Regions from separate parts of the Homo sapiens genome. Here regions 1 and 3 are each linked to region 2. The links are contacts of gene promoters, found by promoter capture Hi-C in blood cells and fetal thymus (Javierre and others, 2016). All regions are on one chromosome and are shown on one strand. Each heading gives the region's core, a stretch centred on a gene start or on the middle of the fragment in contact. The rest is flanking DNA. Distances are from core to core; before and after follow the strand shown.

Region 1 (3,018 bases), core at 158-2,657, 4.4 Mb after region 2:
CAAACAGGATGGTATGTTGTGTAAATTTAGCTTATCTTAATTCAACTATATACTTCCAATCTCATTTTCTCCAATATGCTGATTCATCAAATTTCATATGTGATATAAGCTAGGTCTCAATTTAAGAATTCAGGTGACACTTATTCCACAACAGACTCTTCTGCCTTGTACAGCATACAAACATCTTGGATGGGAATTGGCATACATTAGCCATCAAATCAATCAGAGAAACCTTTCCCCATTCTAATGTGGTAATAGTCCCCATTTCCCACTTTCTCTGACTGACAGTCATCTCAGGTTTTAAAACCAGCTCAAAAGATATCTTTTCCATGAGGCTTTTCCTAACTTCCCCAGTTGTTCACTACTCAGTACCGCCATAGCAACCTGGTCTCTTCTCCACAAGCACGCTTATCAGACATACAGGCTTTTGTTTACCTGTCTGTCTCACAAACTAAACTATAAGCTTTTCCGGGAAAACAACTACCTTACCCATCCATCTTTGTATCTCCGGCGCCTAGTACAGTGCCCAGTGCCTCGCAGGCGTTCAATTAATGATTGTAGAAGAAATGGAGAATGAATGACCTTAGTTAAGCAAAGAATATATCAAACTCAAAAATGTCTGTTTAAAAACCTAAGACCCCAGAAATCGGCTGCATGAGTTGGGTTAAAGCATTAAATAGGACCGGAATGCTGGTAGGTAGAGAAATCTCCACTTGACTTCTTCAAGTACATCCTGAAAAGTACCAACATCAGTGTTTCGATGCAACATTGTCCACATGCAGGAGTAAAGACAACACTTCTCGTGGTCTCTTCCTACCACGAGATCCTGAAACCCACTCCCCACCCCAAATCCGGGAAATCTCACTTTGGGGATCCCAGGACCCCAAGTTCCCTAGATGAGGCTCTCACCTTCCCATTCGTGGGAGGCTCCTGGATGTAGATGTTGCTCATCTTGGTCAGTACAAAGGACTCTGCTCCTTACGGGGGATGAGAGCGGCCGGCCGGCCACTAAAGCTGTCCGCCTACGAGTACACTCTTCCTTAAGTCCAGTGGTGCAGGAAAGCTTCAGTTTGTCAATATCACGCAAGACAGGGACACCAAACACTACCCCTGCCCAAAGGAGCCCCTCACGGACGCCGCCATGTTGTTACCGGACCCGAGCACCGCTAACCCTGAGAAGGGTTATTCCAATGTACTCCAGGGAACGAGAAAAGTCCGTAAAGTTACCATAGCTTAATGTTATTTATGTTATTTGTATTACAATATTAGAAGGGACACTTCATAAGTGTTGGCGGTGTTTACACTACTCTCGTGTGCAGATCAAACTAACTCCCCCTCCAAAACTATCAGTAATGGTTCGGACCATGTGTCTTCTGCAATATGACTCGTCCGGAAACTGCATCCGCATCTACTGGTTCTGCCGTCGCTAGAGGCGTACAGGCCCTTCCCGACCGTAGCGAGGGTGCTGCTGCGCTGGGGGAAGGAAAACGCCGCTTTGACTGTGCCTTGTTCTCACAGCTGGCGGGAAGCAAGCGCCTTTTCGAAAGCCAGAGGCTCGAGTTACCCCTCTTACCACCGTCATGGCAGTCCCAGGTAAGGAGCAATTACAGGGCCTCTGCGTCCGAGCTCCGAAGGGAGCGCAAGGGAGGGTAGGGTAGGGTGCGGCGTGTACGGAGCAGCGCCCATGGGGATTTAGGCGGAGGCCTTAAAATTCACAGGTTTGTTTTGTTTACATGAAAAAGTTTACACTCCAAACATAAACTCTGAAGGAAAGAAAATAACTATCTTCCCCCCAGGAGCCAAGCCCCAGCTGCTTGGGATTACAGGGAAAGTGTATTGTGGAAGGGAGGGAGGAGGGAGAGACTGTAACTGTAGGCCTAAGGGGGCAAGCGGCCGAGAAAAACTACCTTAACTGTGGTATGGCTTAAAACTAAAACTTGAAGTGGGAACACTTGGCCGACCCAGGTAACCGGAGGCATCGTTTGTCTTAGAAGTCGCTAGGACCCACCGGGTGTGCGGGTTCTACTCCTAGCTCTTCCTGTTGTATGTAGCTGCTCCGTGGCCATAGATTGGTCGCTTTGTGCTTCTGGGCCTCAGTTTCCTTATAAAAAGAAGGAGCTTTGTTGAATTATATATAAGATTTCTTCTAACTCTCAAATTCTATGTCCAGAAGTTACTGACCTAAAAACGGTGAACTCTGCAGAATAATTACTTAAAAGATTTTCTCGTCCTCAACTACCAGCTTACTTGGAAGTTCTAGTAGCGGAAAGCATCTCCTCAAACCAGCTTTGCCACTGCAGAACACTGATTGCAGGAGACATTTTCAGAAATACACACTTCTCCACCCCACCTCCCAACTTGGAAATTCCCAGCGCACTTTAGTAATAGAAAAGATTCTATTCTATTAGAATAGAATACTATGAATTGCTATAGAATTACTATGAACTATAGAATTACTATGGTTCAGAACCCTAACTTTGTTTAAACCTGCACTTCCCAGTATTATTTGACCAGGTTCTTTATTCTGTGGCAGCCTTTTTGAACCTCCTTCTACAGATAGCTGTTATTGGAACACTGTGCTTTTGTACTAACTGAAGTTTGCGGAGGAGTACATCTGGAGCTGTGAGAGAGGAAATGTACACTCTTTATTAAGCCTACTGTGTGCCAGGCACTGGTACTGGGCATTGGAAATACAGTGGTGAGCAAGGTAGACATGGTTACGCTTCACACAGAACTTAGAATTTAGCAGTGAAGAGAGAGAAATTTACAGAAAGTGGGACAAGTGCCATGGCAAGGAAAATACAAGACCTTAGCACAAAGTAAGGGCACCAAACACATACAGGATGGGCAGAAGGACTTTCCAAAGGAGGTAGCACTTAGGAGGAGATCTGAATTGTAGGAGGGGTGGCTTGAAGGGAGAGGAGACTGCAGTCGGAGGAACTGGATACGTAAAGGAAGAGGAAATATGTGAAAAGAGGAAATGAAAGATGTTTTCTATGGATGGAACTCAAATACAGA
Region 2 (3,011 bases), core at 88-2,587:
AAAAAATGGTAATTAATTTTTTTTTTTTGAGTCAAGAGTCTTGCTCTATTGCCCAGGCTGGAGTGCAATGGCACAATCTTCTGCTCACTGCAACCTCTGCCTCCCGGGTTCAATCAATTCTCTTGCCTCAGCCTCCTGAGTAGCTGGGATTACAGGCGCCCGCCACCACGCCCAGCTAATTTTTGTATTTTTAGTAGAGACGGGGTTTCACCATGTTGGCCATGGTTGGCCAGGCTGGTCTTGAACTCCTGACTTAAGGTGATCCGTCTGCCTCGGCATCCCAAAGTGTTGGGATTACAGGCGTGAGCCACCGCGCTCAGCCAATAATGATTTTTTTAAAACTACCTCTGTTATGATATAGAACAGAGGACCGCAAATTTTTTTCTGTAAAGGACCTGATAGTAAATTTTTTAGGGTTTGTGAGTCACACGGTCTCTGTTTTAGCTACTCAATTCCACCCTTGTGGCAGGAAAGTTGTACTCCAATAAAACTGTTTATGGAAACTGAAACTTGAATTTCTAATAGAGTTCACGTGTTATGAAATATTTTTATGATCTTTTCCCTGCAACACTTAAACATAAAAACTATTCTTAGCTTGAGTGGTCACACAAAAATAGGCAGTTAGGCAGATTTGGCCCAGGACCTTCTCCTGCTCACTAGTTTAGAAGACGAATGTCCCTTCTCATCGAATCTTCCCCAGCAACCGCTTAGTGGAAAAGTATAAACACCGTCCGCTTAGTAGAATTTATAACATATAAAGCTTCTGGGTTACAAAGGGTCGTAGTTCTAAAAGAAATGGTAGGGGCACCTTCCTTCCAGTTTAGCTCTGGCATTCAATTTGTCTGTAAACCAGAGAGGTAGGGGGAGGGCGGGGAAACAGGAGGAGAAATTACAGCTTCTAAGGGCCCGGGGCACTGTGCTCAACACTTTCCTAGACTATCTCATTTAACCCTTGTAACCTCTCTCCAGGGGGTCATTTTTCTCTCCTTTTCGCTGATGAAGAAAGAGCTTCAACAGTTTAAGTGAATGAGGCAATCACGGAGACCTGACGTGACCGAGCGTGAATTCGAACCCTAGCCCTTCTGAGCAAGGGCGGAGTTCCGGGCCACAACGCCCACTTGGCCCCGGCTGAGGAGGCCAAAGGGAACAACCTGAGGAGCAGGGTCATGCGGTCCTCGCTGCACGCCGCCTGGGCGCCGGCGACCTGCGGTGGCCCGCCTGCCCGGCCTTCCCCTCCGGAGTCCGCGGGCTCGTCGGCGTCTTGCATCTGGGGCTGCTCCTCCATTGCTGGTTGAGGGGAAAGGCTACCACTCAACAGGCAAACGCGCTCAGAAAAGGTCGCTTTTCCCGCCACTAAATGGACGCCGGGAAAAGGCCCGAGGGCCCCGCCCCTTCCGCCCAGGGCCCCACCCTTTCCGCCTTGTTTTTCGGTTGCCGTGGTTACTACGGGCTCCTCTTTCATCCGGGCTCTACTGGTGAAAATAACTGCAGACGGCTGGTAAAAAGTTGGAATAGCTTTCGTTAAGCGTCGGATGTGTAGAGTGCTGAGTTAGGGGCTGGACTAGAGACGTTGGGACATCTCCCGGGAACAGCAGCCTGGAGGGGAAAAATCTCCTGACCTAAGTGGTCATTCGGCCTTGGCGCTTGGACACGGGAGTGCGGCGACAGCCATATGTCCATCCATCTTGGCACTTTTCCGTCCTCTGCCTTTGAAGATGGGTGTGCCCGGCAGGCTGTGAAAGATAAACATTAGAGGGTTGTTTAGAAGACTTTTTTGACCTGAGCCCATGAGGTGCATACCCTTTGTTTGGCGGAGAAACCAGTGGCTTCTGAAGATCAGGGACGGGCCACAAGTGCGAGGCATTGCAGACATTTCGAACCCAGACTTCCAGCCTGGAGACATCCACACGCTTCCAGTTTCTTGCACTGGTACTTCATTCTGTCATTATGATTGCCACCACTCGTAACTGAGAGTTGCGTGCCCTCAAGTTTTGAGTGTCTGCAGGGTACCTTTGAGCTTTCTTAGCTGTGTAGTGAGTGGGGGGAATGGAGAAAATGAAGGACAGATGACTGATTTGTAGTTTTTCATTTGGACACTGTCCTTGCCGCACAAGCACAGCAGCTTGAACCTCTTTGAACAAGAGTCGAGAGTTCTTTTACAGCTAATTACCCACTAGTTAAACTTGATCATACTGTGCTGTTTTCTTCCTCTCCATTGTCAATGTAATACGGCTCCTGACAAAAGTTAAATTCGCTGGGCGTGGTGGCTCACCCCTGTACTCCCAGCACTTTGGGGGCTGAGGCGGGTGGATCACCTGAAGTCAGGAATTCAAGACCAGCCTGGCCAACATGGTGAAACCCCGTCTCTACTAAAAATACAAAAGTTAGCTGCGTGTGGTGGCGGGCGCCTGTAATCCCAGCTACTCAGGAGGCTGAGGCAGGAGAATCGTTTGAACCCGGGGGGGCGGAGGTTGCAGTGAGCTGAGATCGCGCCACTGCACTTCAGCCTGGGTGACAGAGTGAAACTCCGTCTCAAAAAAAAAAAAAAAAGCCGGGCGCTGTGGCTCACACCTATAATCCCAGCACTTTGGGAAGCCGAGGGGGGAGGATCTCGAGGTCAGGAGTTGGAGACCAGCCTGACCAACATGGAGAAACCTCGTCTCTACTAAAAATACAAAATTAGCCAGGCGTGGTGGTGGGCACCTGTAATCCCAGCTACTGGGGAGGCCGAGGCAGGAGAATCCTTTGATCCCGGGAAGCAGAGGTTGCAGTGAGCCGAGATCACACCAGAGATGCACGCCAGCCTGGGCAACAGAGCAAGATTCCTTCTCGAAAAACAAACAAACAAACAAAAAAACAGTTCAAAAGACACAGAATGGACTGGTGGCGATGGCCCACGCCTGTAATCCCAGCACTTTGGGAAGCCAAAGCGGAAGGATCGCTTGAAGTCAGGAGAACAGCCTGGGCAGCATAGTGAGACCTCGTTTCTACTTAAAACAAAAACAAACAAA
Region 3 (3,173 bases), core at 532-3,031, 3.6 Mb after region 2:
AAAAAAAAATTCCACAGGAATATATAATTCCAAGGTAGCACCATTAAAATAAAAGTCAAAAGGTAAAAAAGGAAATGCATTTAGAGAAGGAAGCTGTGCTAATTTGGGGAAGATAAATTATATTCAAGAGTAAAGGCTGAAAAAATAAAAACACTTTTAAAATCCCACAGTGAAACTATTTTGGATGTAATTATGACTATAACCACTAACTTCCTACTATCTAAAACAACACAAATAGTTGTGGAAACGAGGTTGAAAAATTTCAAAACATGATGGAAAACAGTACAGAAATACTTAAAATCAACTTCTACTTTAAAATTCTACAATATTAATGTAAGATGGTATTCTGGTTGTTTAGGAAGTCTGCTATTAGTGCCAACATTCTCTTCAGTTGAAGGTACAAACAAAGAAAAGTCAAACCAAACTGGAAGGAACATTACCGTCTAATCTCCTAGTACTTACACATACCATATAAAATCTATTCTTTTTGAATGATGTACAGACTATTGTTGGGTCAGCTTGAATATTCTGAAGAACAGGATTTTCAGAAGCTTTCATTTCTATAGTAGTTGCAGCACGATGCTTTTTGGCTATCCCCTGGAACAAAGCCAATTGCATCACTCTAATATTTTCTTGTTTGCCTAAAATCCGCACACACCTAAAAATATAACAATGTTTTATACAACAGAATCACCGAAGTTAATTCCAATTATGACAACTTTACAGATAAAAGCTGGGAATCAACTATCTTATCTATGTACAAAATAACTAGTGAAAGATTTTTAAAAGTGTTTCTCTACCCCCCAAAAGGTATCAATTTAAACTGGTAGGCAGCTATAATTTTCAGGTTAAAAAACAGAAATGAGGCCAGGCACGGTGGCTCACACCTGTAATCCCAGCACTTTGGGAGGCCGAGGCAGGCAGATCACTTGAGGTCAGGAGTTCGAGACCAGCCTGGCCAACGTGGTGAAACCCCATCGCCATTAAAAATACAAGAAATTGGTCAAGCATGGTGGCAGGCACCTGTAATCCCAACTACTAGGGAGGCTGAGACACAAGAATCACTTGAACTCAGGAGGCAGAGGTTGTGAGCCGAGATCGTGCCACTGCTCTCCAGCCTGGGTGACAGAACAAGACTCCATCTCAATAAAAAACAACAACAACAAAAAACCAATCAAGAGAATGAAAAGTCACAGACTAGGAGAACGGCTCATAAAGGACTGTTATCCAAAATATATAAAAAACTCTTTTTTTAAAAAAAAGTATATATATACACATATATATGTATATATATATACACATATATATGTATATATATATACACATATATGTGTGTATATATATATGTATATATATATGTATATACATATATATAAAGAACTCTTAAAACACAACAATAAGAACACAACCCAATTAAAAAATGTCCCAAGGACCTTCACATATACTTCATCAAAGAGATATACAAATGGTAAATAGCATATGAAAAGATACTCCACCTCATATGTTGCCAGGGAAATCCACACTAAAACAAGATACCATTACACATCTATTAAAATGGCCCAAATCTGGAACACTGACAATACCAAATGGTGGCACAGATGTGGAGTGACAGGAACACTCATTCATTGCTGGTGGGAATGCAAAAAGAGTATAGCCACTTCGAAAGGCAGTTTGGCTGTTACAAAACTAAACATTCTGTTACCATATGATCCAGCAATTGTGCTCCTTGGTATTTACCAAAAGGAGCTGAAATGACTACACAAACACCTGTACACAGATGATTATAGCAGCTTTTATACATAACTGCCAAAACTTGGAAGCAACCAAGATGTCTTTCAGTACGTGAATGGATCAACTGTGGTACATCCAGACAATGGAGTATTATTCAGTGCTAAAAAGAAATGAGCTATCAAGCTGTGGTGAGGCATGGAGGAAACTTAAATGCATATTACCGAAAGGAGCCAATCTGGACAGACTACATACTGTATGATTTTAGCTATATCACATTCTGGAAGAGGCAAAACTATGGAGATGGTGAAAAGATCAGTGGTTGAACAGTCAGAGCAGAGGATTTTGAAGGCAGTAAAACTACTCTATATGATAATATGATGGTGGATACATGCCATTATACATTTCTCCAAACCTATAGAATATACAACACCAAGGGTGAACCCTAATGTAAACTATGGACTCTGGGTGTCAATGTAGGTTCATCAATGGAACAAATGGACCACTCTGGTGGGGGACGTTGATAATGGGGAGGCTATGCATGTGTTGGGGCAGAGGGTATATGGAAAATCTCTGTATCTTCCTCTTAATTTTGCTGTGAACCTAAAACTGTTCAAAAAAGTAAGGTCTATTAAAAACAATCAATCATTTGTTTATACAGTTTTAACCTATTCTTATTAAAATTCCATGTCTGTTAACTGTTCTGCAAAACTTCAAAGATTTTGTATTGCCAAGAACTACAATATAAATATGTTTATACATGGAAATGTACAGGACATTTTTTTCTCCTTAAAATATTAAGTTCTGTTCATTTACATTCAGTGAGAGTATCTGATTGTAGCTATTTTGTACTAAGACCAAATGGACTGTTTTCACAAAAAAGGCTTACTGTGGTTTCATGCATTTTAACTTTTGATTTTATGTCTAGCAGGAAGTAATGCTGAATTCTGTGGTTAAAATCTTTGGCAACATTTAACATGAACCAGGCTAATTTAAATCAATAAGCAAAAGACAGACAAACTTGTTAAAAAAAACACACAACAACTTGAAACTATGCATATCTTCTTTCCATTTCTTTTACAAACATGAGTGGAAACTTTCTACATAAGATTATAAACAACCAAGAGACCACAGAAAAATCCAGTCAAAACATTTGGTTAAGTTTAGACATTTGGGGCCATTCCACTTTTCTTGGAACAAACAATACTCCCACTGTTCCCATGATGGAGGAAATGGTCCCCCACAAACACATTTTTAAAAAACATACCTCATATTAAAGCTTACCGGTTTGTCTCTACATTTATAACTTTAATGCCCAGCATTGTTCCATACAGCACGAAGTGTCCAGTTTCATCAAAAACTATATTAATTAATCTTACAGCATCAACCTTCTCCAACTCACGTTCTACAGCCATTCGTCGGCCAAATTCCATGTCTGGTAACTG

What was found. Contacts are between HindIII fragments. The CHiCAGO score rates a contact against its expected background, and 5 or more counts as called.
Region 1: a contact is called between the fragment with the promoter of SREK1IP1 here and the fragment with the promoter of CENPH in region 2, in 1 of 17 cell types (monocytes). The highest score is 5.4, in monocytes.
Region 3: a fragment that was not itself captured here is called in contact with the fragment with the promoter of CENPH in region 2 in 2 of 17 cell types (monocytes and neutrophils); the score reaches 8.4 in monocytes.

The regions. Positions count from the first base shown.
Region 1 is chr5:64,767,080-64,770,097 of GRCh38, reverse strand. It overlaps SREK1IP1 (SREK1 interacting protein 1), which reads left to right and starts at 1,407. Exons shown (of 5, transcript NM_173829.4): 1 at 1,407-1,593. The coding sequence starts at 1,581. CWC27 (CWC27 spliceosome associated cyclophilin) reads right to left here and starts at 1,168. Exons shown (of 14, transcript NM_005869.4): 1 at 910-1,168. The coding sequence starts at 951. It overlaps LOC124900985 (a long non-coding RNA gene), which reads left to right and starts at 1,602. Exons shown (of 4, transcript XR_007058787.1): 1 at 1,602-3,018. RefSeq lists enhancers at 672-1,396, 1,115-1,434, 1,585-1,674, 826-2,025, 1,397-2,123 and a silencer at 1,362-1,656. The HindIII fragment of the contact is 4,415 bases long and covers 1,066-3,018 here.
Region 2 is chr5:69,187,909-69,190,919 of GRCh38, reverse strand. CENPH (centromere protein H) reads right to left here and starts at 1,337. Exons shown (of 9, transcript NM_022909.4): 1 at 1,152-1,337. The coding sequence starts at 1,285. LOC112267932 (a long non-coding RNA gene) reads left to right here and starts at 1,443. Exons shown (of 2, transcript XR_002956215.2): 1 at 1,443-1,929. RefSeq lists a silencer at 1,286-1,405 and enhancers at 1,264-1,558, 1,486-1,725. The HindIII fragment of the contact is 12,435 bases long and covers 763-3,011 here.
Region 3 is chr5:65,576,909-65,580,081 of GRCh38, reverse strand. PPWD1 (peptidylprolyl isomerase domain and WD repeat containing 1) reads right to left here. Exons shown (of 11, transcript NM_015342.4): 6 at 3,013-3,173; 7 at 469-658. Among named protein-coding and RNA genes, the nearest start is that of PPWD1, 15 kb to the right of the region's middle. The HindIII fragment of the contact is 2,456 bases long and covers 554-3,009 here.